Linked DNA regions of Homo sapiens: regions 1, 2, 4, 5 and 6 are each linked to region 3. Evidence: promoter capture Hi-C in 16 types of primary human blood cells and fetal thymus (Javierre and others, 2016). All regions are on one chromosome and are shown on one strand. The core of a region is centred on a gene start or on the middle of the fragment in contact, and the rest is flanking DNA. Distances in the headings are between cores, read along the strand shown. Region 1 has its middle 27 kb from the start of CCDC93. Region 2 overlaps LOC105373578 (a long non-coding RNA gene). Region 3 holds the start of LINC01956 (long intergenic non-protein coding RNA 1956). Region 4 has its middle 12 kb from the start of CCDC93. Region 5 has its middle 130 kb from the start of THORLNC. Region 6 overlaps LOC105373578 (a long non-coding RNA gene).

Evidence for each region. The method cuts DNA at HindIII sites, captures the fragments that hold promoters and counts their contacts. A CHiCAGO score of 5 or more calls a contact.
Region 1: a fragment that was not itself captured here is called in contact with the fragment with the promoter of LINC01956 in region 3 in 7 of 17 cell types (activated CD4 T cells, total CD4 T cells, non-activated CD4 T cells and 4 more); the score reaches 8.3 in activated CD4 T cells.
Region 2: a contact is called between a fragment that was not itself captured here and the fragment with the promoter of LINC01956 in region 3, in 14 of 17 cell types (M0 macrophages, M1 macrophages, naive B cells and 11 more). The highest score is 12.9, in M0 macrophages.
Region 4: a contact is called between a fragment that was not itself captured here and the fragment with the promoter of LINC01956 in region 3, in 4 of 17 cell types (erythroblasts, naive CD4 T cells, non-activated CD4 T cells and 1 more). The highest score is 6.2, in erythroblasts.
Region 5: a contact is called between a fragment that was not itself captured here and the fragment with the promoter of LINC01956 in region 3, in 1 of 17 cell types (endothelial precursors). The highest score is 6.2, in endothelial precursors.
Region 6: a fragment that was not itself captured here is called in contact with the fragment with the promoter of LINC01956 in region 3 in 1 of 17 cell types (M0 macrophages); the score reaches 5.4 in M0 macrophages.

Annotation. Positions count from the first base shown.
Region 1 is chr2:118,039,602-118,043,536 of GRCh38, forward strand. No RefSeq gene overlaps it. Among named protein-coding and RNA genes, the nearest start is that of CCDC93, 27 kb to the left of the region's middle. The HindIII fragment of the contact is 6,011 bases long and covers 1-3,935 here.
Region 2 is chr2:118,208,274-118,212,061 of GRCh38, forward strand. The region is part of intron 1 of LOC105373578 (a long non-coding RNA gene); the gene reads right to left. Among named protein-coding and RNA genes, the nearest start is that of THORLNC, 24 kb to the left of the region's middle. The HindIII fragment of the contact is 3,372 bases long and covers 92-3,463 here.
Region 3 is chr2:118,834,499-118,838,491 of GRCh38, forward strand. It overlaps LINC01956 (long intergenic non-protein coding RNA 1956), which reads right to left and starts at 1,648. Exons shown (of 3, transcript NR_199712.1): 1 at 1-1,648. The HindIII fragment of the contact is 14,254 bases long and covers 1-3,993 here.
Region 4 is chr2:118,023,596-118,027,966 of GRCh38, forward strand. No RefSeq gene overlaps it. Among named protein-coding and RNA genes, the nearest start is that of CCDC93, 12 kb to the left of the region's middle. The HindIII fragment of the contact is 4,453 bases long and covers 1-3,848 here.
Region 5 is chr2:118,312,549-118,316,900 of GRCh38, forward strand. No RefSeq gene overlaps it. Among named protein-coding and RNA genes, the nearest start is that of THORLNC, 130 kb to the left of the region's middle. RefSeq lists an enhancer at 3,387-3,887. The HindIII fragment of the contact is 426 bases long and covers 1,878-2,303 here.
Region 6 is chr2:118,188,480-118,192,284 of GRCh38, forward strand. The region is part of intron 4 of LOC105373578 (a long non-coding RNA gene); the gene reads right to left. Among named protein-coding and RNA genes, the nearest start is that of THORLNC, 4.0 kb to the left of the region's middle. The HindIII fragment of the contact is 4,372 bases long and covers 1-3,805 here.

The sequences.
Region 1 (3,935 bases), core at 1,098-3,597, 790 kb before region 3:
GAAACTCTATGAAAAGTCCTGCAATAGGAAAACTGTGTAACTTTGTCTGAACAAATATTTCCCAAGCATATTTTACTGCAGTTTCTAATCAATGCCTCATGGACCACTGTCTGAGCAATGGTCCACTGGAAGATCGAGCTGGCTGGTTCTGCAGAAGAGTCTTGGTCTAGATGTTGTCCATTCTTAGAGTTATGTCTGGGGGAGGTATATGGGCACTATCCTGTGTGTATGTCAGACACTGACTCAGTGGTACTGGTGTCTTGAACAGAAGAGACAGGAAAAGCGAAGAGAGAAGTCATGGTTTAAGTTTATTCTTGCACTGCGATGAAGAAATACCTAAAACTGGGTAATTTATAAACAAAAGAGGTTTCATTGGCTCACGGTTCTGCAGGCTGTAGAGGAAGCATGGCTGGGGAGCCTTCAGGAAACGTACAATCATGGCAGAAGACAAAGGGGAGGCAGGCACATCTTCAAATGGCCAGAACAGGAGGAAGAGAGAGAGTGGGGAGTGGGGAGGTGCCACACACTTTTAAACAACCAGATTTCATGAGGACTGTATCAGGGGAACAGAACCAAAGGGGGAAATCTGCCCCCAGGATCTAATCGCCTCCTGCCAGGCCCCACCTCCAACACTGGCGATTACAATTTGACATGCGGTTTGGGTGGGGACACAAATCCAAAGCATATCGTGGTCTATATGAAATGAGTGCATACCCTAAATGCAAATTGGAAAATAAAGTATTGCTACAGAGACACACTCAGTTGCTAACTCAGCTAGTAAAAAAAGTACTTGAACATTCGTTCTTTTCAGAGTAATCTATGACATGTCTCCTGCTTGGAAGCCCCTCCATAGGTCTCAGAGATGAGTGCAATGTCTTTATCATGGGCTACAAGTAGGTGCCCTCTCTGGCCCATGCCTGTTTCACACCACAGCCCCCCGGTCACCTCCTGTGATCAACCTCTCTGGTGTTCTCTCAGATCCCACATCTCAGACCAGGCCCTCTTATGGAACACTGTAACTTTTCTTGATAGCACTCACTGCAAATGATTAATGCTATGTAGAACATTGGTTAACATTGTATTGAAGTATAACATATTCTCTACAAAGTGCCTAACCTTGAAAAACTTTTACTTGTGGATAAATCTGAGGAGCTACCACCCTGATCAAGTCGTGGAACATTTCTAGCATCCCAGAAGGCTCTGTTCCTGCTGTTTAAGCCACTTAGTTTGTGGTACTCAAACACCTAGTTAGTAGTTAGGGGTGTTCTCGCCACCACCACCTCCACCTCAGTGATGCAGGTGACCTGCCAAGGAAGCCAGAACATTTCCCAGCAGAGCTGTGCCATGCCCCACGTGGAAGGAAGTCTGTGGGGGCAATGGAGCTGTGGGTCTGGCAGCCCTGCTATAACACCAGAATGAGCTAGCCACCAGTGACAATGTTTGCGGGCTGTGGTGGCACCTAGCACGCTACACCCACATTCAGAACATGGCAGAGGCAGCTTCCCTTTTCTGCTTGCCAAACTTCACACAGATCGTCTTGTCAGCCCAAGCAGAACCACCCAGGGAAGGGGATTCTGCTAAACATAGTTCCCATTTAGCTAAGTCGCCACTGTACCAACCACCACAGGGGCATCGTTTCTGCAGAGAAGCTCTTTCAATGTCTTGCGTGGGGAGCATACAGCAGGCTCCTGGTGCCCTGGTCAAAGACGGGAGACAGGATGGGGCTCTGGCCATGCGTACGTGGACCTCTACTAATCTTCAGTTTGGGGCACAGAGCCTCATCCATTGCCTCTACTCTGACACATGTTCCAGAGTTGGGATTCTGGCCCTCTCAGGGTCTCCAGAGAACAATTCTCTGGTTACTTGTGAGAATCAGGGGGTTGGTGATGCAACTGTAAAGGATGGGATTGAGCCGGGATGGGTCCAGTGGCTCTAACAGAGGCTTTCAGACTACCTCCCTGTTTTCAGCTTTGCCTGAGCCTTAACTCCTGCTCTCCAAGCTACCTGTGCCTCAGCCCTGAAGTGGTCAGAGTTCTAAGCGGTGAATCGCTCTCTGCCATTACCCCCACTGGGCTCCAAGGTGTCTCTACATTCTCTCCTCTACAATGCCAGACACCAGTTCTCCATCTCTTTTTCCACTTCTAGAAATTTGTTGACATTTTTCACTTGCTGTTGCTAATTTTTATCCACTGTGGTCTTTTCGCTTGTTCTCATTGTCCTTGCAGGTTAAAGATACATATATATTTTTAATTATTTTCCTCACACTTCAGTTGTGTCTCAGAAGGAAGTCAATGCATACACCCAACCTACCATTTTAAACACAAGACTTAAAAATATATATTTTTTCTATATGTTATTGGGGTATAGGTGGTGTTTGGCTACATGAGTAAGTTCTTTAGTGGTGATTTGTGAGATTTTGGTGCACGCATCACCTGAGCAGTATACACTCACCCTATTTGTAGTCTTTTATCCCTTGCCCCCCTCCCAACCTCCCCTCCAAGTCCCCAGAGTCCATTGTATCATTGTTATGCCTTTGCATCCTCATAGCTTAGCTCCCACATATCAGTGAGAACATACAATGTGTGGTTTTCCTTTCCTGAGTTACTTCACTTAAAATAATAATCTCCAATCTCATCCAGGTCGCTGCAAATGCCATTAATTCATCCTTTTTATGGCTGAGTAGTATTGCATTGTATATATGTATATATATACACACACATATATATATATACACACACACATATATATATATATATACACCACAGTTTACTTATCCACTTGGTGATTGATGGGCATTTGGATTGGTTCCACAATTTTGCAATTGCGAATTGTGCACCTATAAACATGTGTGTGCAAGTATCTTTTTTGTATAATGACTTCTTTTCCTCTGGGTAGATACCCAGTGGTGGGATTGCAGGATCAAATGGCAGTTCTTCTTTTAGTTCTTTAAGGAATCTCCACACTGTTTTCCACAGTGGCTTTACTAGTTTACATTCCCACCAGCAGTGTAGAAGTGTTCCCTGATCACTGCATCCATGCCAACATCTACTGTTTTTTGATTTTTTGATTATGGCCATTCTTGAAGGAATAAAGTAGTATCTCATTGTGGTTTTGATTTGTACTTCCCTGATCATTAACGATGTTGAGCATTGTTTCATATGTTTGTTGGCCATTTGTGTATCTTCTTTCGAGAATTGTCTATTCATGTCCTTACCCCACTTTTTGATGAGATTTTTTTTTCTTCTTACTGATTTGTTCGAGTTCGTTGTAGATTTTGGATAGTAGTCTTTTATCGGATGTATAGATTGTGAAGATTTTCTCCCACTCTGTGGGTTATCTGTTTACTCTGCTGACTCTTCCTTTTGCCGTGCAAAAGCTCTTTAGTTTAATTAAATAGCTATTTATTTTTGTTTTTATCGCATTTGCCTTTGGGTTCTTGGTCATGAAATCTTTGCCCAAGCCAATGTCTAGAAGGTTTTCCAATATAATCTTCTAGAATTTTTATAGTTTCAGATCTTAGATTTAAGTCCTTAATCCACCTTGAGTTGATTTTTGTATACGGCTAGAGAAGAGGATCCAGATTCATTCTACATATAGCTAGCCAATTATCCCAGCACCATTTGTTGAAAAATGTGTCCTTTCCCCACTTTACATTTTTGTTTGCTTTGTTGAAGATCAGTTGGCTGTAAGTATTCGGGTTCTTTTCTGGATTCTTTATTCTGTTCCATTGGTTTATGTGCTTATTTTTATACCAGTACCATGCTGTTTTATTGACTATAGACTTATAACATAGTTTGAAATCAGGTAGTGTGATGCCCCCAGATTGGTTCTTTTTGCTTAGTCTTGCTTTGGCTGTGCAGGCTCTTTTTTTGCTTCCATATGAATTTTAGAATTGATTTTTCTAAACCTGTAAAGAATGATGATGGTATTTTGAT
Region 2 (3,788 bases), core at 528-3,027, 630 kb before region 3:
CCTCTGACAACATTGCAAGGCAGCCTCCCCTCTCTTTCCTCTTAGCTCTACTACTAGGTTTTGAGTTTGGACAAGACAGCTCCCCTCTCCAAGCTTCCAAGTTTTTAGCCACAAAGTAGGAGCTGGGCTACCAATCATGAGCATGTTGCCAGAGTCTCTTGTAGACTGTAAAGTCAGTGAATCTGAATAGATCTCCCTTAAAATCTATGACATGTCTTCAGCTTCACTTATTCACATTAAAATCTCACTGATTAGTGTCATAAATTTTCTCTTTGAGCACACATATACCCCTGGGTGGGATAAGGGTCAAAGAGCTGCATGGGACAGCACTTCTCAAATGCTGACATGCACATGAATGGGGGTCTTGCTAACGTGCACATTCTGATACAGGAAGTCTGGGGTGGGGCCTGAGAGTCTGCATTCATAGCAACCTCCCGGGTTATGCCAGGCTGCTGGTCTGGGAGCAGACTTCGATAGCAAGTGTCTGTGGTGGCAATAAGTTTGATCAGATTGCTTCCTTTTGAAGACCTTTGATAAATCTGAGAGGAAAACAGTGTTTTATGGAGGCAGAGAAAAGAGGAGGAATTAATTGATAGCAGGGTACACAAAAGTGTATCTTTTGTTAGGTAATCAGTGAACTGTGACTATTCATAAGAGAGAGCAGTGGGGACTGTAGCAAACTGGAGAGAATGGGCCTCAGTGACGGAGTGGGTGCCACTCAGCTCTAGTACCTTGGCACCATGAAGCCACATGACCCCTAGTGCCAGATCTTCCAGCTTTTTGAGATAATCCAGTCACTGAATTCTATGAACTTTTTTGATTTTTATATGTCAATTACTTCACATCAAACTAACTGGCCAACTAAAAACCAACTAGTATCATGTGAGCCAAACAGAACGTGTATGAAGAACAAATGGTGTGTGAGTGAACAAATTCTAGATGGGAAAGAAGTCCTTCCTGGGCCCTGGAGGTTACAAGGGTAGGGAGAGGACACTTCCTGAGTATAATAGGGGTTGGGTAATAAAAAGAAAGTGGGAGGCCTTGGAAGACCAACATGGCTACTTCCAAAGATGTTGCCTACTTACTCCGTCTCTCCCTCCTAGAGATGCTGCAGAATTTCTCCCTCTGGAGCTTGAGGTAGGAGGAAATAAAGAACAAGGGGCTCACAGCTGAATCTGGATTATGAGTGAAGTGTTTCTACTCAGGGGTAGGGAGGGGACCCAGGCCCCCTGTCTCCCTTGTGGTAGCACTGCTGTCCAGTGACCCTTGGGGAGTGTTTTCTCTATCCATCTGCTGAACTGGCTCTTTGCTCTTCATGGGAGGCTCTGTGGACACAGGATGTTTAGGTCCCTGTAGGTAGCCTTGTGGATGGTAAGATTCCAGAGAGTATCCCTGAGGGCAAGTTGGATACAATGAGTTGGAGAGACTTCATCTAGTCCACTCTCATTTTGTGACAATCTGAATCTCACTGAAGGTCTAGATGGAAACCAAATTCTGGAGGTCAGGTTTTGGCGTCCCCTTCAACTTCACCTCTAGGTTATCAGGAGAACTAAATGTGAGCATGTGTGAAACATGCTTTGTAAACTATAAAGCACCACAAATATGTCAGTGATTGTTAGGAGGTAGCAGGAAGTCAGCAAGCTCAGTTAGTATCCCAGCTCTTACTAACTCTGTAAACATAGTCAAGTGACTTAACTTTGCCAGACTTGTCTCTCCACCTGTAAAATGGGGTGCATAAAGCCTATCTTACCTCTGTGAAGATTAAATGAAATAGTGCATATAAACTACTCAGTATTTCATCTGACCCAAAATAGCTGCTGCTCAATAAACAGTAGCTAATATTATAGTTATTTCTAATATATATAAATACTTCATTTCATTTATACTTTTAAATGCTTTTTAAAATTATGCAAGTGCTTTTCAAGTCAAAAATCAGAAAATTCTGATGAAAAGAAAATAAAAATCAGTTATGATCCCCATATCTGGAAGTTAGTCACTGATACCAACTCCGGACACTTTTCTAGACTTTTGTATACACATTCTACTGTAAAGATATAATTACAGTGTTTTACAACTTGACTTAGCAACATATTACGAGAAAAATTCCACATCAATAATTATATTTTATGTCATTTAAAAGAACTGCAGACTCTCCCACTTCTGGGGAGATGGAGTAGATAAAATTTTCCTTATTCCTTCCTCTGAGTACAACTAGAAACCTTGAATATTATATATAAAACACGTATAAGAAGACTGAAAAATGGATAGAAAAAGGCAGACTGGATAGAGGCTTCAGGACCTAAACAATGACTCACTGATGAGTTTCCTGGTTACTCTGTTGTTGTTGTTGTTCTAACCTTATATATCCCAATGTTAGAGCTGAAGAAGCTGAGAACCTGGAAACTCCAAGAGGCACAGACCGAAAAATAAATAAATAAACAAACAAACAAACAAATAAATAAAGGCTTTCTAGTAAAGTTTCAGTAAAGGGGAAGCCTAGCAAGGTAGAATATATTTACACGATAATTATTACACTCTGGCCAAACGCCACAGGATAAACTGTGGACCAGTCCTACACATGCTAGCAAAGCCTGTCATGAGGTGCTTCAACACCCACACACAGGAGCAGTGTTAGAGAAGGCCAAATAGGGAGCCAAGACTCTCAGCTCTGCCTGATATCAAGTTCTCCTTGCACCCCAACATCACGATGTTAGTGGGGAGCAAAAACTCACCCTGCCCAGCAGTAAGGATGAGATTCCTTCCATGGGGAGTGGCTGAGTGGGGAGCTTGGACTTCTACCATCACGGAAAATAATGAAGTAGTATCTCTCCTCTTCCTGCTGGAGTGATGTCAGACAAAGCTAACTATAATAGAAGACTTAAATAAGATCTAGAGGTTCTTAACGATATAAAAATATGCAGGTTTCAAACAAAGATCACTTGTCATACCAAGAACCAGGTAGGTCTCAAACTAATGAAAAGACCATCAATAGAGGTGAACACAGAAATGGCAGAGATGTAAGAATAATTTGACAAGCATTTTAAAGTAGTCTTCATAAAAATGCTTCCATGAGCAATTATGAACACCCTGGAAGCCAATTTAAAAATAGCAAGCCTCAGAAAAGAAACAGGAGATCTCAGCAAAGGAATAGAGGATATGAAGAAGAACCAAATGAGAGTTTTAGAACTGAAAAATACAATAACCAGAATAAGAAGCTCAGTGGATGAGCTCCACAGCAGAATGGAGGAAACAAAGGAAAGAATCAGTGAAGTCAAAGAAAGAACAATTGCAATTTTACCAAATTTAAGCAGCAGAAAGAAAATAGACTGAAAAAAAAAGAATAGAGGCTCAGAGACCATGAACTGTAACAAAAGATCTAATGTTGTGTTACTAAAATCTTGAAGGAAGAAAAAAAGGGTGAGGCTGAAAAAGTACTTGAAAAAATAATGGCTAAAAATTTCCAAGCTTTGGCAAGAAACAGAAACCAACAGATTCAAGAAGTGGAGCAAATCTCCAACAGGATAAACCAAAGAAATCTACACCAAGGTATGTCATAATTAAGCTTCTAAAAACTAAAAACAAAGAAAAAATCTTGCAAGCAGCCATAAAAAAAAGAAAATAAAAAGATGCCTTGCTTCCAAGAAAAAAACAATTAGAATGGCAACAGATTTCTCATCAGAAACCTTGAAGGCCAGAAGAAAGTGGCACGGTATTTTTCATGTGCTGCAAGAAGAAATCAAGACATTCGAGATGAAGGAAAGCTAAGTGAACTTGTTGCCAGCAGATCT
Region 3 (3,993 bases), core at 398-2,897:
CGACAGAGCTGTGAGCCTCCGCCTGCTGAGAGGAGGGCACTTGGGCGGACCTGAAGTTAAGAGGCCCGGGGTGAAGGCCAGAGCTCAATCTGCAGGGATAGAAGGCGCGGGAAATCCAGCAAAGGATGGAAGAACAGTCCCTGCCAGGCCGCGGCCTCCTCGCCCCCGCCTGCCCGGCCTCACCCTTCTGGAAGTTCCTCCAGGCCTGGGTGGGGGCCGCCAGGGAAGGCGCAGAGGGAGGGCAAGTTGGCGCCGCTAGTTTTAGAGAAATCCTAAGTAAACAGTGAACCCGAGCAGGAAACCTCAGCTTTGCCTGGGTAAGAGAACTGGCCACACAGCTCCAAGAAAGGAGAGGAGGAGAACAAATCTCTGCGCCCTGAGGATGGTGGCTTTATTGCGGAAAGAGGTGGTGGGGCCGGAGCTGCTCTGCAACTTCCTCTCGCCCCCTCAAAAAAAAAAAAAGTATCCCGCAGCGAGGATTTCAGAAGGGGCTCACCTGGTGCAGGAAAAGTTCAGTTGGCAGCCCTTCGCGAGCAGGTCCTCCCCAGCCCGCACCGAGAAGGCAGGCGCCCGGGCCCTCTGACTCCAGTGGCTCAGAGCCGGCTCAGGACTGGCAGGGCGAGGAGCCGGCGGGCCGAGCCAGCGAGGGTTTGGGCTGCCCGCGGTGTGTGTGCAAGAGCGCGCGCCTCGTGTAACCATTCAGGACCAGTTGAAGCAACACAAATAAAGTCAGGTCTCTTCAGCCTTGCTGTCCACCCCTCCCCCTCTTCCTGGTTTGACCCTGGCCTGGCCGCTCTGAGGCCCAGTTTGCGCAGCCGACATTGCGTGGCTACTCTCATTACCAGGGGAAGGGCGCTCCCCTTTTCCCTGGTAATACTCCGGGAGCCCCTACTCGGAAGCCCAAGAGTCAAAGGGATACAGGGGTGACTGGAGAGCAGCGGGGGACAGCGTGGCCTCACCCAAGGTCAGCGCTGGTCCCCACGTGTCGGCCGGGGGAGGGGAGGGGAGCGGACAGTCGGAGCGTTCGGATGTCCAGTTGAGCCGCGGCGCGGGGCAGCCGGGGGCGCAAAGTTGGAGGCAGGGCTGGGCGACGAGGAGAGAGGGAGGGCCGGGAGCCGAAGGGACGCCCGGGTGCACCCCGCTGCAGAGGCCGAGTCCGAGCGGCCGGAGAAGGCTGGTCGCAGAAGGGCGGCCTCCGGTGCAAAAAACGGAAACCTTGGAGCAGAGGATGAGGAGGAATACGGAGGCGGGGAGCCCACAGAAAAAGATGTTGAGGAAAGAAGAGGAGACCCCGGCCTAAACAAATCGAAACTGTGCAATGAACGTGGCCCGGGAGAACCGGGGGTGAGGGGCGATGGCTGGAGCTGCGGCCCAAGCACAGCTTTCAGACGCTTGCCCGGACCCTGGCGCGGGGAGGCGGCCGGGACTGCCTTTCTGCGCGCGTCCCTGGAGAGCGGGTGGGCAGGACCTGCGCCCCGCGGTGGGCAAGAAGATTTGGGGTTTCGCAGTTCCTGGGGTCGGGGGCGGGGGTGAAGTGCCCTCAGAGACCTCGGCGGAGCCCCAGTTGCGCTCCCATCTCCAGCCCCCACTGGAGAGAGGGGGTCCAGGGCCGTACCCTCCTGCGGCCTGGGCTGCGCTGACCGGAAGTGCCTGTAAGAAGCGCCCTCCGCGGACCGTGCCGGGCGCGGGCAGCTCCAGCCGGGTTGGAGCAAGGCCAAGACGCCCGGATGGGGCGGGCCGTTTCGGCGGACCCAGTCTGGACGCAGGTGCGGGAGGAAAGTGTGAGGGGGGAAACTGCTGATTGTGCGGGGATAGGGGCATCTTAATCTGGGAAAAGATCGGAATCTCTTGGGACGCTAATCTGAGACCCGGGTCGGAGGTGTAGAGTAGGGGTGTGTGAGCAGGAACTCGGACCTGAGTTACAGAGTAAGAGGGAAGAGGGCTGGAGAGGTGCTGAGGCTACTCCTAGTTAAGACTGAAGGAGAGGAGAGGAGGGATAACAGCCCTTCACGCAAATCAGTGCTCCCCCTGCTCCCCCAGGTGCCAAAGTCCAGGACCAATGTGGAGACTTGACACTGCGCTATGCGACTGCGAATCATTCTTCTATTTATAAGTAACTACAGTATAGACTTCAACGTGATTTGGTGAGACCTTAGCAGGATGACCCTGGACCTCACTTTTCTTATCTGTAAGGTGGGGATTATAATAGGCAACACACAGAAATGTATGTTGTTGAAGGAAATAAATTGTGTTAAATGGCTAGCAATGTGCACGGAAGACCCTCAGTGATTAATGATCATGTTAATTTTGAATTTCTGGGAGTGACATCTTCTGAATTGCCTGCACTCTGCTAAATGGACAAGTCCTGTACCTGGAGGTGAAGGGGCGGGGGAAGGGCAAGGAGAGCCCTGCTGTGGTCGTTACTGGGACTCGCTTTTGTTTTCTTCAGGATTCAGTATTGAAATTGGGAGTGTGGAGGCGGCTTCTCCCCAGCTCTCTCCGTCCAGTTTTCCACTGTGTTCTATTTATCAGATGGCAGAGCCGTGGGTCTCGCTGCAGGAAATGGTTGCTGTCAGGGCCCGATTGCTGCTGTCAGGGCCCAAGCCCACTCTTGCAGTAGTCGTGGTTGAATCAGAAATTCTCCTGGGTCCCTTCTGTCTTTGGACTCTCATCTCTCTCACAGGAGGCTCCCGCCCCTCTGCGCTGGTCCTGGAGGCCTGCAGACCAGGTCTTCAGGAGGAGGGGAGGATGCGAGCACCCCAGATGGAGCTTTCTCCGTGCGCTTGTGTGGTGGCAGGGGGCAGAGAGGAATCTAAGTTGTGCCCGGCTTTATACCCCACTCCTCATCAGAGTTGAGGAGGGGGAGGCGAGTACTCACTAGTCTCCTCTACAATCCCCTGCCCCCTCCTGGCACTCCCACCCACCTGCCTGCCAAAGGCAGAGTCACAGGCTGTTGATAAGAATACTCTCTTCAGGATGTGTGTGCATGCACACACACAATACATTTCTGCTTTTCTATTGGGTCACACATACCTAGAGTCTTCCATTACTATAGCCTGAAATCTTCCCAAATGTCCTCAAAACACCCCACCCCCATACCTGTGGGGAGAATTCCAGAGTGGAGGGGCCCACTCCATCTCCAGAGTGGCACCCAGGTGGAGAAGGCTGTATTCGAAGCAAATTCAAGGAGCAAATTTTAATGGCCCATGACTTACCAAGCCTCTGAGAAATCTGTTTGGGATGTTTACCTCCTCTTGCCCTGGGTCTGCTCCGGTCCCAAGAGCTACAGCTGGCAGAGCACTGAGTGTACTTGCTGGTGGGAGAGGGTTGTAGCATTGGGTCTGTGTCTGAGCACAGGCACCTGGACTGGACCAGCTGCCTCCAGGGGAGAGAGAAGGGGCTGCCTCTCCTTTTGGTGGCTTCCACAGAAAGGAGAGGGCACACAGGTCTGTCCTGAGCCCTGGAAACAATGTCTTTTCCCTCCCCTGGCTAGGGGTGAAGCCCACCAGCTGGGGCATGCAGGTGCATCTTGGACACCAGTATGTGTATTCCTGGCTCATGTATAGTTGTGTGCCAGAACCTTCTACACAGGCAATGTCCATGTGCTTGCTGTGAACACACTGTATATTGGTCCACTGACATTTGTATACATGCCTATGTTTTGCATGTGTGCATATGTATCCACATGGGTGTGTGCATGCTTATGCATTTGTATGTGTGGAAGTGTGTACATGTGTGCATTGTGACTGCATGCATGTTGACATTACCCACTTGACGGCACAGTGAGGAGAGGCCTGGACTGATAGGAAATCTGAGGACTTTGCCTCTCATTTGCCTTGTGCTTTCTCTTGGGGCACTTTCTCTCTCAGGATTTTGTAATTCAAGAATCTCTGAGGACCCTTCCAACACTGACATTGCATTAAAAGACTGGCCTAAAGCATTTGGGGAGGCGTGGAGGCTGGCAGAGTCCCTAGCCCTTCCCCTTTCCACAGG
Region 4 (4,371 bases), core at 372-2,871, 810 kb before region 3:
TTTTAAAACGCCATTAAGCCCCATTATTCTTTCTTGTCAGTTCATTCAGTCTCATGTAATAAATTTTTGTTCTGTTTGATCTTGGTTAGCAGTTTCACAAACCCATCAGTCTCATTAGAGTTCTAGAAATTCTTACCCAGTCCAATGGTATTAAAAAAAAAAAAAAACCTTAAAGTTATCAGAAACCTGTACTTGCCAGGGTTCTTTCTATCCTTATTATGAACCTCCTTAAAGACATACAAATATAACTCGAAGAAGGTTAAATTCCATTTCTTATTTGACAAAGTTTCTCATGTAATTTAAGGAATCAAATAAGCTGTTTAATCTGTTTAATATCTCTCTTTTGCATTTCCAGGGGCCCTCTGGGCTGTCCAACAGCTGGTTCAAGGTCAAAAGGACTTAATTTTATAATTTGATTTTAGGAAGTTTGTCGAAAATAAACTTTCAAAACACTTGATCAAAAGTAGGATCACAGGCCACTATGAAACAATAATTATTCCTTTAACCAGAGTTTTAATTAAGAGAAGTTGCAAGGCTGGGGGAAGTGGCTCACACCTGTAATCCCAGCAATTTGGGAGGCCTAGGCGGGATGATCGCTCAAGTCTAGGAGTTTGAGATCAGTCTGGGCAACATGGCAAAACCCCGTGATATGGTTTGGCTGTGTCCTCACCCAAATCTCATCTTGAATTCCCATGTGTTTATGAGAGGGACACGGTGGGAGGTAATTGAATCATGGGGCAGGTCTTTCCTGTGCTGTTCTCATGCTAGCAAATAAGTCTCATGAGATCTGATGGTTTTAAAAAGGGGACTTTCCCTGCACAAGCTCTCTTCTCTTGTCTCCTGCCATGTGAGATGTGCCTTTCACCTTCAGCCATGATTGTGAGGACTTCCCAGCCACGTGGAATTGTAAGTCCAATAAACCTCTTTCTTTTGTAAATTGCCCAGTCTCGGGTATGTCTTTATTAGCAGCGTGGAAATGAACTAATACGCCCTGTCTCTACGAAAAATACAACAACAACAACAAAAAATTAGCCAGGCACAGCGGCATGCTCCTGTAGACCCAGCTACTTGGAAGGCTGAGGTAGGAGGATGGCTTGAGCCCGGGAGGCAGAAGTTGCAGTGAGCGGAGATCATGCCACCACACTCCAGCCTGGTGAACAGGACCAGACCCTGTCTGGGAAAAAAAAAATTGCATATTTGTAGGAAAAAACCCTTTAACTCAATTTTCTTAAGTAATCAGAGACCTAATAAAGACAGTATGAAGCATAGGAAATTAACTTGATAAAACACAAAATCTCTCTTTCTCCTGCTTACAGGTTCCCTCTTTCCTTGCTTCTTTTTAGTTCCTAAGTCCATATTTTGAAAGAACCTTTAAATAATATCAAAATTAGACAAAATTACTTTTTTCCCAAAGGGAAAAAAGCATACCTTTATGCCTTTCTTATAATTTTTCTCAACAAAAACACTCTCACTTTCCTGCTTAGCATACTGAATTGTTCCCTTTATTTCTAGTAGTTTTAATTATGTATACTAATTATACTTTTTAATTCTTAGCAGTTGCAAACCAATTCTGTAGAGTAGGACCATTTCATAATTCCTAGAAATATGTGCTTCCTGAAGGTACAAATTTTCTTTTTTTCTTTTTCTTTTAGAGATGGGGTCTCTGTTACACAAGCTGGGCTCAAGTGACCCTCCTGCCTCAACCTCCTGAGTAGCTGGAACTACATGCATGTGCCATCTGTTTTATCTGGCTAAAGTACAATTTTTCAATGTGGAATAGAACACATTTACTAACAGACCTAAATGCATTTTGTCTTTTTGTACAATTCAAGAAGCCAAAAACAAACTTAAACTTACGTGCAGCAATTAATGTTTCAGCATTTTATCATACTTAGAAATGATTCAGACATTTCATGAGAATCTATTAATTATAACACAACTTTAAGTTATCTACAAAGATTTTTGAAACCATGAAAATTTTATTTATAAACTTTTATCCTGTCTATATTCACCTAGTCTACTCATTCTTAACAATAATTCTTGAAGTGCCCATTAAACAAGGCTAGCCATCATTTAAGTTATTTCTGTGTTAACCTTTTTTGTTTTGTTTTGTTTTGTTTTTTGAGACGGAGTCTCGCTCTGTCACCCAGGCTGGAGTGCAGTGGTGCTGTCTCCGCTCACTGCAAGCTCCGCCTCCCAGGTTCACGCCATTCTCCTGCCTCAGCCTCTCGAGTAGCCGGGACTACAGGTGCCCGCCACCACGCCCGGCTAATTTTTTGTACTTTTAGTAGAGACAGCGTTTCACCGTGTTAGCCAGGATGGTCTCGATCTCCTGACTTCGTGTTCCACCTGCCTCGGCCTCCCAAAGTGCTGGGATTACAGGCATGAGCCACCAGGCCCGGCCCGTGTTAACCATTTTTATAGCATGCAAATGCTAAGCATGAACTCTAAAGTTAAATGCATGGGTGTTTTCCTGATCACAAGACACAGTTGTTTTTATTTAAACAACAATAGTAATAAACTAATCCTATTTACCGAAGATTTACGCAGATCACATGAACTAAAAGGCATTAAAATATTTGATCTAACTGCTTAGGTTTTCTTCAAGCAAATTAGAGCTTTTTTTCATATATTTTAGTAGAGAAATATCACATACACGTAATACATATAGACATATGGACACACAGAGAGAAGCAGATCTTACAGCTTTTTAAAGATTCTTCTAGGCAGTCATGGTGGCTCATGCCTGTGTAAACCAGAGTATCTAAGACAAGTCTCAATCAATTTAGGAAGTTTATTTTGCCAAAGTTAAGGATGCACCCATGATACAGCCTCAGAAGGTCCTAACAACAGGTGTCCAAGGTGGTCGGGGCGCAGCTTGGTTTTATACATTTTAGGGCGACATGAGACATCAATCAATATATGTAAGATGTACATTGGTTCAGTCTGGAAAGGTGGGACAACTCAAAGTGGGGAGGGGGCTTCCAGGTCACAGGTAGACAAAGAACAAATGGTTGCATTATTTTGGGTTTCTGATTAGCCTTCCACTGAATCAAAGGAAGCAATCAGCTGTGCATTTGTCTCCTGGGAGCAGAGGGATGACTTTGAGTTCTGTCTGTCCTTTGTCCACAAGGAATTATTTTGTGGACAAATTGTGAGGGAGGTATGTAGGTTTTTATCTTTGTAGCCATCCTATTTAGGAATAGAATGGGAGGCAGGTTTGCTCTTTGCAGTTCCCAGGCTGACTTTTCTCTTTGGCTTAGTGATTTTGGGGTCCTGAGATTTATTAATTTTTTCATACCTATAATCTCAGCCCTTTTGGAGGCTCAGGTGGGAGGATCACTTGAGGCCAGGAGTTCAAAGCCAGTCTGGGCAACAAAGTGAGGCCCCGTCTCTACAAAAAAATAAAATTAGCTGGGCATGGTTGTGTGCTCCTGTAGTCCCAGCTACTCCAGAGGCTGAAGTGAGAGGCTTGCTTGAGCCTGGAACTTCAAGGTTACAGTGAGCTATGATTGTGCCACAGTACTCCAGCCTGGGTAACAGAGTGAGACCCTGTTTCAAAAATAAATAAATATTCTGCATTTTCTAGTTTTCAAGATCTCTCTCTCTCCACTTTAGACTATCAATCTTATGATTGCTTATTCCTTGCTCTAAACAATTGTTAGGTAGGTGACCTTAAATTTGCATTGCCAAAGGCATGACATTTGTGTGAAACAAGGTGAAAAATTTATAGAACTTAGGTCTAAATGCCATTATTTGCTGAGATAAAGAAGGGCATAGGTAAGAGACTCAGTTAAGACAAGATGGTGAGGAAAATTACCTTAAACAAGAGTAAAATTTGTTATGTAAGCTTTAAGCCAATGTCTTTCCTATTGTTGTTTAGGTACAGAAAGGAAGATACCTTTAGAAATGCAGATTTCATTTATAGATGTAAATTTATTTTTACAAGGAATTTCAAAATAGCTAGCTAAATGCAGAAAGTTATATTTTGGAAACCAAGTTAGTTCAACGGGCAGTCTTTTCAATTTAGCTTGTTTCTTAATTAGATTACTGACTTTAGGATGGAGTTCTTCAATGAACAGGGCTAAACAAAAAGGTCAGTAGATTTAATTTTCTTATCAATCACTTAAGCTTTTTATTTGGTATTTTGTAAAAAGCCATTCAAAAGATGCAATAAATTTTTTCTGAAATACTTTTAGAAGCTTATGCCTATTGAAGGCATCCCTGGATGGGCCTAATTTGGGAGCCCTGTAGATCAGCTCTTCATGAACCACTCCCAAAAATCAGCCAAAAACCCCAGAGATTTAAATAATGCCTTGAGAGCTGCAACAGTTGAAGCGGCCTCATTGTCTGGGGTGACATCTGAGGTCC
Region 5 (4,352 bases), core at 841-3,340, 520 kb before region 3:
GAGTCCCACCTGAGTTTGTACCCTGGTTTCTTCACTTCAAAGCTGTGTTTCTTGAGAGAGATACTGAATCATTCTAAGCCTCAGTGTCTTCGTCCCTTAATTGGAAACAGGAATACCTGCCACACGGAGCTACCGAGGGTTTGATGAGATGACGTGTGTAATGGTTCTCAGAGGAAGCATCCGAAAAGCACTCTTTTTCTGTGAGCCCAGCTGAGATGGTGTAGTAACAAGGGCCCAAAGGCTGCTTGGTACCAATTCATAAAAAAACAAAAAAGTGAAGGTAAATCATTTTCTCCATTAACATCCTAAAGTGGGCCAGGCTCAGTGGTTCATGCCTATAATCCCAGCACTTTGGGAGGCTGAGGTGGAAAGATTGTTGGGTTCCAAGTTCTAGGAGTTTGAGACCAGCCTGGGCAACATAGCAAGACTCTGTCTCAAAAAAAAAAAAAAATCCTAAACTGCACACATTTTTCTTTTCTTAAAACTTTGGCACATGTCTTCTGTAAGTGGTTGCTGTAATGGAATTGAATATATCCGAGTTTCATAGTGTTTATCTACTCATTCATTATTCCACAGATATTTATAGTGTGCTCACCATATGCCAGGCACTTAGTAGGTAATTGGATACAGCAGTGAGTAAGACAGACAAGATCAGGGTACCTAGGGAGCTTCTATTCTAAAGAGGCAAAGAAAACAAGCTAACAAGCAAATACAGACTATAATTGCAAATTGTGACAAATGCTATGAAGAAAATGGAAAGAGTGATGGGATAGAGGATGTTCCACCCAAAAATTATGATTTCTGGGTAACTGGCCTTCTGAACAAGTATGAGAACAATCAGTGTATGTGTGACACCCAGCCAGTACACAGAACAGCTGGCTCCAGTTAACTATTGCTGTGTAACACAACACCCCAAAACTTAGCGACTTAAAATAACAACAGCATTTACTTTGCTTGCAAATCAGCAATTTGAGCATGGCTCCGCAGGGACAGCTCATCTCTGCTCCACTTAGCCTCAGCTTGTGGGGATCAAAGGCTGAAGGTGGGGTCATGTGGAGGCTCTCTCATTTACGTGTCTGGAGGGTGATGCTGGCTGTCAGCTGGGACCTCAGCTGGATCTGGGGCTGGAACATGTGGCCCTTCCACCAGGGGGCTACCTGGCTTCCTCATGGCCTGGAGGCTGGGTTCCAAGGGCAAGCATCCTAAGGGTAAGATAACTAGGCAGAAGCTGTATTGCTTTTTATGATCTAGACTTTGAAGTCCACAGTGCCACCTTTGCCACATTCTATTCATTAGAGGTTAGTCACTGAGGTGAACCCACATTCAAGGGGAGGGAATAGACTCTGTTTTTCCATAGGAGCAGTGTCAAAGAATTTGTGGACATAATTTCAAACTGCCTAAAGCCTCAGTTGAAGAGATGAGAAGCATTAGTTTTGAAAACATGATCAAACACACTTGACCTTCATATGCCATCTCACTTGCCAATGGTTTTTTCTCCCTCTGGTTTATCTCCAGCCTAGCCACCCTGCCATGATGACAGGACTAATTTTTCTGATCATGCCCTGGAGGCTTGTTTTTCATTTTGTCCCTCTGTCCTTCCATGGCCCTCAACTGTGCTAGAAAAAGCCCAGGTTTCTTATCCATACATTCACAATTCTTGCATATCTGGCCTTAGTCTCCTTCCCTACTTTATTTCCTAAACCAGTGAAGGAAGGATGAAGGCTGAAGGCTGAATGTAAAGACAAGACCGCTTCAACCAAGTTAGTCCACTTATTTACACCTAAATTACCTACAGTGTGCATTTCTTTGTCTGCTACTTTCTCCATCTGATAGTTCCCCAGCACCCAAATTCTATTTATTTTTCAAAACTCAGTCCAAGCTTCTCTCTTACATGAAGTTTTTCCTGACCAAACACCATTAATAACAAGTAATAGCTGATAATTATTGAGTACCTAATGCAAGCCAGCAATTTTACTAGTGACTTTGCATCTATTTCCATTAATTCTCACAACCATCTTGCAAGTTTCCTATTTTCCCGTTGAACAGATGAGAAAACCAAGGCAAAGAAATTTTCTCTGGGTTATCCAGCTAGTAGTATGAGATGCATTTGGGATTCAAATCTGTCCATCTGCCTTGAATCCAACACAATCTCTATAAAGTAGAAAGTGATAAGTAGTTAAGTCATGAAGGAAAAGCACTGGACAGTTCAGTGGTCTTGTTTTGGGGGAGTTGAGCTAATCAGGAACGTGAATGTCAGTGACTTGGTGTCTCCAGAGAAGTAAACAGACCTATCTCAGGTTGAAAGCTTTTGTTTGTCTGTTGGCTGCATCATACTCTGGCCAGCTGGGCTCTGAGGAATTTTTACGATTTTGTTAGGTATCCTAATCGCCAACTTGCAAGTAGTGCCTTAAGGTCAAGGGGGGTCTAATGGTTTAATGATAGAGAGAGAAGAATGGGCTAGGAATGAGACAGCTGGGCTCTTTGGTCTACCTCCCCAATTTTGAAATAGATTCTTATTGGGCTATATAAAAAAATATGCCCACAAAGTCCTCCCTTTCTTGGATGCACTCCCCTCACAATGTGTCTTTGCTGCCTTTCCCAAGAAAAAGGAGGGGGATCTGATGTGAATTGGCCTGATGTGAACTTGCTTTGCCCAATTGAATGGGAAGGAGCCATACGATCAAAGTTCTGAGATTATGCCTTAAAGAGCCTTGCAGCCTCCTCTTCACCCTCTTATAACTCTACTCTGATACCGCCATGCTAGGAAGAAGCTGGGATGAAGACCAAGTAGAGAGAGGCCCAGCCATTTCTGCTCTCCCTGTTGCCCTGGCTGAACTCAGCCCCATCTGAAATCTGTTGAGTGAGAACTGACCAGCCAACCACAGAATCTTTGGGAAAGGTAACCTGTTGTTTAAAGCCACTAGCTTTTGGTATGGTTTGTTACACAGTAATAGATAACTGATACACATCGTTGAGATTCCACTAGGGAAAGGGAATTTGAAGAGCCTTTGGAATATATGTATGGAAAGGAGCTTTGCCTGTGGAAATTGAATGGAATGGGATGAGAGAGAAGGCTCATCATCTCCAGGAAGTCAATAATAATGGAAGAAAACAGGCACATGAAAGAATGTTCAAACCAAGAGTTAATATTCAAATAGTGAATAAAATGAGAATCATAGAATCAGAAACTCCAGGCCTGGGAGAGCCTTCTGTAACCAGGTGTTTCAGGGATGACAAATAGGTTTCGGTGGTTGCCCACTCGAACGGATTAGTTGTGGCTGCCTGGAGTGCTGTGCTGAGAATGCTGAGGCTTTGTCCATTTTCAACAGAAAGGAGGGCTGTGATCAATTAGTGATGTCTGCCACGGGTGCGAATCTTACTTCAGTTATTCAAATGTGCAAAGCTCTTTCCAGTCTCAGCACATTTTCCCATGCTGCACACTCTATTTGGAATACTTTCCCCACTCCACCACTGTTTTTCTAGCTGGTTTGGAGACAAGATGTCTCTCTGTTGACCAGGCTGGAGTGTAGTGGTGAGATCATAATTCACTGTAAACTCGAACTCCTCCATTCAAGTGATCTTCCCACCTCAGCCTTCTGAGTAGGCAGGACTACAGGCACACGCTACTACACTGGGCTAATTCTTTTTGTAGAGTCAGGATCTTGCTATGTTGCCCATGCTGATTTCAAGCTCCCAGCCCCAAGTCATCCTCCTGCCTCAGCCTCCCAAAGCGCTGAGATTACAGGCATGATCCACTGTGCCCATCCCATCCATTAAGTTTCAATTTTAATGTCACTTCTTTGTGGAGGCCTTCCCTGCCTGAAGCAAACCACTTCTATTAATGTCTCTTGGTTGCATGCCTCATAATTTGCCATTATATGTATGTGTGTATTTGTTTTCTCACCCTTTTCTCACAACACACTCATTTAACAGCAAACTTCCTGAGGAAAGTACCCTGTCTATTTCTTCCCAGCTATTTACCTAGTACCTGGTATAGTGCTGAAGTGGAAGAAGTGCTTAATGCTATTGTTGAATGGCTGATTGAGAGATTGCATGGATACTGAGTTCGGCCATCCTGAGCTAAACCAATTTCCTCTTCTAACCTGGAATGCTTAGGTCACATGCCTGGAACATACAGTCTGTCAAGCTACAAACTCTTAGTTCTGTGCTTTTTCTAAGACATCAGTTCTACAATGCACACAGATTTTGTTTTGTTTTGGTCTGTTTTTGGGACTGAGTCTTACTTTGTTGCCCAGGCTGGAGTGCAGTGGCAGTGGAGTTGCACTGCAACCTCCACCTCCTGGGTTCAAGCAATGCTCGTGCCTCAGCCTCCCTGGTAGCTGCAATTTCAG
Region 6 (3,805 bases), core at 815-3,314, 650 kb before region 3:
TCTTTTCATTTGGCTGCATTTCCTTATCTTTCTGATGAAGATTTCTCCTCTGCGCCCTGCCCATAATGGGTCCTGTGATCTGGGCAGTTGCTCCTCTGTCTCTCCAGAAGCACTTGTCCTAGCTGGGTTATCCTGTCCTGCAGTCATTTACTTCCAAGTCTGTCCCATCATCAGACTCTGGGCCCCTCGAGGCAGGGACTGTGGCTTGGTCGGCTAGCAAATAGGGGAGACTTGGTAAGGTTGGTGGAAGGAGGCAAAGACTCTTTTTGTGATTCAAAGTCAGTCTTAAAAACTCCAAAGAAGCACCTGGCCACCACTAGTTCCTATGCGGTTTATAAAAATTCGAGAGGCACCTCCTTCCTCCAGCCAGGGAGTCTGGCTAGCTGCATGGAGGATGGGCTGGGCTTTGGCCCTCATTTGCTCCCTTGGTTCAGGGCCTGTGCGTAGGGCGCACTCCATAGCTGTATGAGTTATGCTGTAGAGTAGCCAAGGATGCAGACATGGGCTGCCTGGGCACTGGCCACTTGCTCCTTGAAGTGGACCAGGCTTCTGCTTTTAAAGAAGTCCCTGCCATCAAGCTCCTCCTCGGTCATGTAGCTATTTCCCACTGAGCCTCAGTGGGATGTGGGTAGCTGCCACCCAGTGCGACATAGCTGCCTGCACCCCCATGGACATGCAGTCATTTGGCAGTGGTTGCTACCTTCAAGGCAGTAGAAGGGAAGAGTGCCTCCTTCCTCATTTGCCCTGAAGCTGCCCCCATAGAATGACTTTTCTGCTTTAGTATTTCCCTTGAGGTGATTGTGGAGAAAGGCAATCATCTGTCCAGCTTCTTTTATTAAGTGCCTACTACATCAGGTACTGTGCAAAAGTTCTTTGTTCCTCACAAATCTCCAGGAAGTAGGCAGAGTCTCCTCATTTCAGATATGGAAATCAAGGCTCAGAGGAAAAAAGTAAGAATGGAAGATTCTTTCCAGCACTCTGTTCTCCTCGTTTCCAGGGATGGCACCCGACCTCTGGCGTCTCTGAAGATCCTCTTTGGTATCTGTCAGGCCTCAGCAGTTAGGTTGGAAGGGGCACCTCTGAGTTGGGTAAGAGATATGGTTTGAGAGACTGGCTGGGTTACGACTTTGTTTGGCCAAAGTTTGGGCCATATCAAAACCATATAGACACTGGCCTGCTAGAAAAGCGTCCCTTTTCTCCATGCCAAAGAACAGCCAAAAAAAGATAGATCAAAACATCAAGCTCCCGGGAGGCCACACACATTTGAAGTCGCTTCTGTTAATATAGCTTGTAAAAATATAAAACACATTTGTCACTATTTTGGAAGCAAGGAGGCAGAAAAGGTCATATTTTCATCTCTTCAGGTTTCCAATAATAGAATGAACGTTTGGAGTATTTTTGTTTTGTTTTGTTTCCTGCTCTTTCAATGTGTCTCAATGCTCTCAAATTACTAGTATTTCCACGATTTCCTGAAATTTCAGTCTTTCACCCCCCACCAAGGGCTGGTGTTTACCACAGCCTCAAGCTGGGCTCTATCAGTTTGCTGGCAAGTGACTACTTAGAGAACTTTAAAAAATCCATTAGGAATGGCAGGCTTGTAGGGATTGAGGAATGGGGGAGGTGAGCATACTCCACAGAAAACACAGGATGGACCCAGGTTTGAAAGACTGTCCTGCCACTTATGAGGCAATTCTGAATCTCTCCCAGCCTCGGTTTTTCCATCTGTAAAATGGCCCTGACTGTGAGTGCGTCACAGGGACACTTTGAGGAATGAATGATATCACACAGGTGAAGAGCATGGGGCATTACTTGGACCATATTGGGCTTTCCCTAGATGTTGTTTAACTTTCCTTTCCAGTTATTCTAGTCACATTGATCCTCTCTCTAGGGTGCTCCTATGTGACACTTGCTTGACTTAGTTCCAGGAAATTACTAGTTCTATGCTTAATGACTAGATTTTCATTTACATGCATTTGTCTTAGACTCCCCACTTCAAGTGGGATTCCATCAAGGATTTAAATTGGCTTTGAATTTCCCCCACTGGGCTGGACATCCTGGGTATTGCCTCTGTCTTTGAAGTGTCTTTTTGAAGTGGCTGCAGATCACAGGGAATGAAGGCTCTTTATTTGTATTTGATGCCATATGGCCACTAGATGCCCTTGTCTCTTAATTACATAGGACCACTGTAAACCTTTGACAAAAGGCAGTTTTGCTTGGTGGTTACAAGCAGTGAAATCTGATCTCAGCCTAGCCTCTCTCACTAAATGTTTACTCATTGATGAGTTGCTCAACCTCTGAGACTCAATATTTCCACTGGTACAATGGGGATAATGAAAATCATCTCCCAGGATTGTTTAGAGGAGACCACAGGATCAGAGATGCAAATAATTAGCCCAGGGTCTGGTACAGAGCCGCTGCTCAGTCAACGATAGTTATTATTATTTGTGGTTGATATATTTATCCCTAATGTGCGAAAGGTCTATCTATCTATCTATCTATCTATCTATCTATCTATCTATAATCTATCTAGCTATTTATCATCTACCTACCTACCTTGTTAAATATCACTAGCCATTTCCATTATAATCCTCCTAAGAGACCATTTATGAAACAATGCCTCCAACAACTGAGCAAAAGTCGTGCTGCAGCCAAATCAAGGACCATTATCTCCCGTGCCAGTTGTAGACCAAATTCATTTAATTTGCTAATTTCACCCTTAGAAGTTGTTTAATGCCAGCCAACATTTGGAATTTTTATCTGCACTTTGCAAAGCAAATGACATAGTAAAATACATTAATATAGGCAAATATCTAATTAGGCTTAAAAAGTTAGATTCTACATGTAACAAAGATTTGCACTCTTAAGAACAAAGTAGCTGTTGCTCCTTTAGAAATTTTATTAACTGTCTTCCCTCATTGTGTGAAGGAATACTTTAATGAGGTTCTCATCTGTTTATGAAATAAATATTTGTTGAGTCACAGAGGATATGAAGACATGGTCCCTGTCCTCACAAAAGTCTCAGTCTAGTGGGGAGACCAACCTGGGTCAATACACCTGTGCTATGGGACAGGTTTATAGAAGTGTTGTGGAGGCAGAGGGGAGGGCTTCTTATCACACTTGGAAGAAAAGGGAGGTCAGGGAAGGCTTTCTGGAGCAACAGAGATAACCCTGCAGTTTTACAGAGGAGGAAGAAACACACTGGGTATGTTGAGGGATAGTAAATGGTATTATGGGTGGGGGGCGGGTGAAGGAGGCAAAGCAGAAAAAGGCTGAGGTCCCAGACAAGTGGCTAGAGTCAGTCCAAGAAGTGTGGACAGGATCCCAGGAGGTGCAAGAGGGGAAGCGATGTGATCGATCTTGTGCGTTAGATTACTGGGAGGATGGAGGGTGGGCTTGGGAGTGCGGGGTTCTGCTGAAGCAGGAGATAGGGAATTGCTTTTCAAAATGTGGTCCAGGGACCGGGAACATCTGCATTACCTGGGAGCTTGTTAGAAATTCAGACCCTTTCTCCCCACCCTGGACCAACTGAATCAGAATCTGCATTTTAACAAGGTCCCCAGGTAATATATATCCAAACTGCACTGTAAGGCTCTTGAAAGGTTGGACTAAACCAGGATGGGCAGTGGCTTTGGAGACAGACAGAAGGGGAAGAGTTAGAGTCCTGTCTGAGCCTCTGGTTCCACTGAAAGTGGAAGGACCTAGCAGGGAGTAATGGAAGAATTTCTTGGCAAGTTCTCTCTAGAAGCTACTGTGTAAATGGGCATGTTGTGCCATCAGATCTGTAAATTAGTTAGCTGTCCAGAGT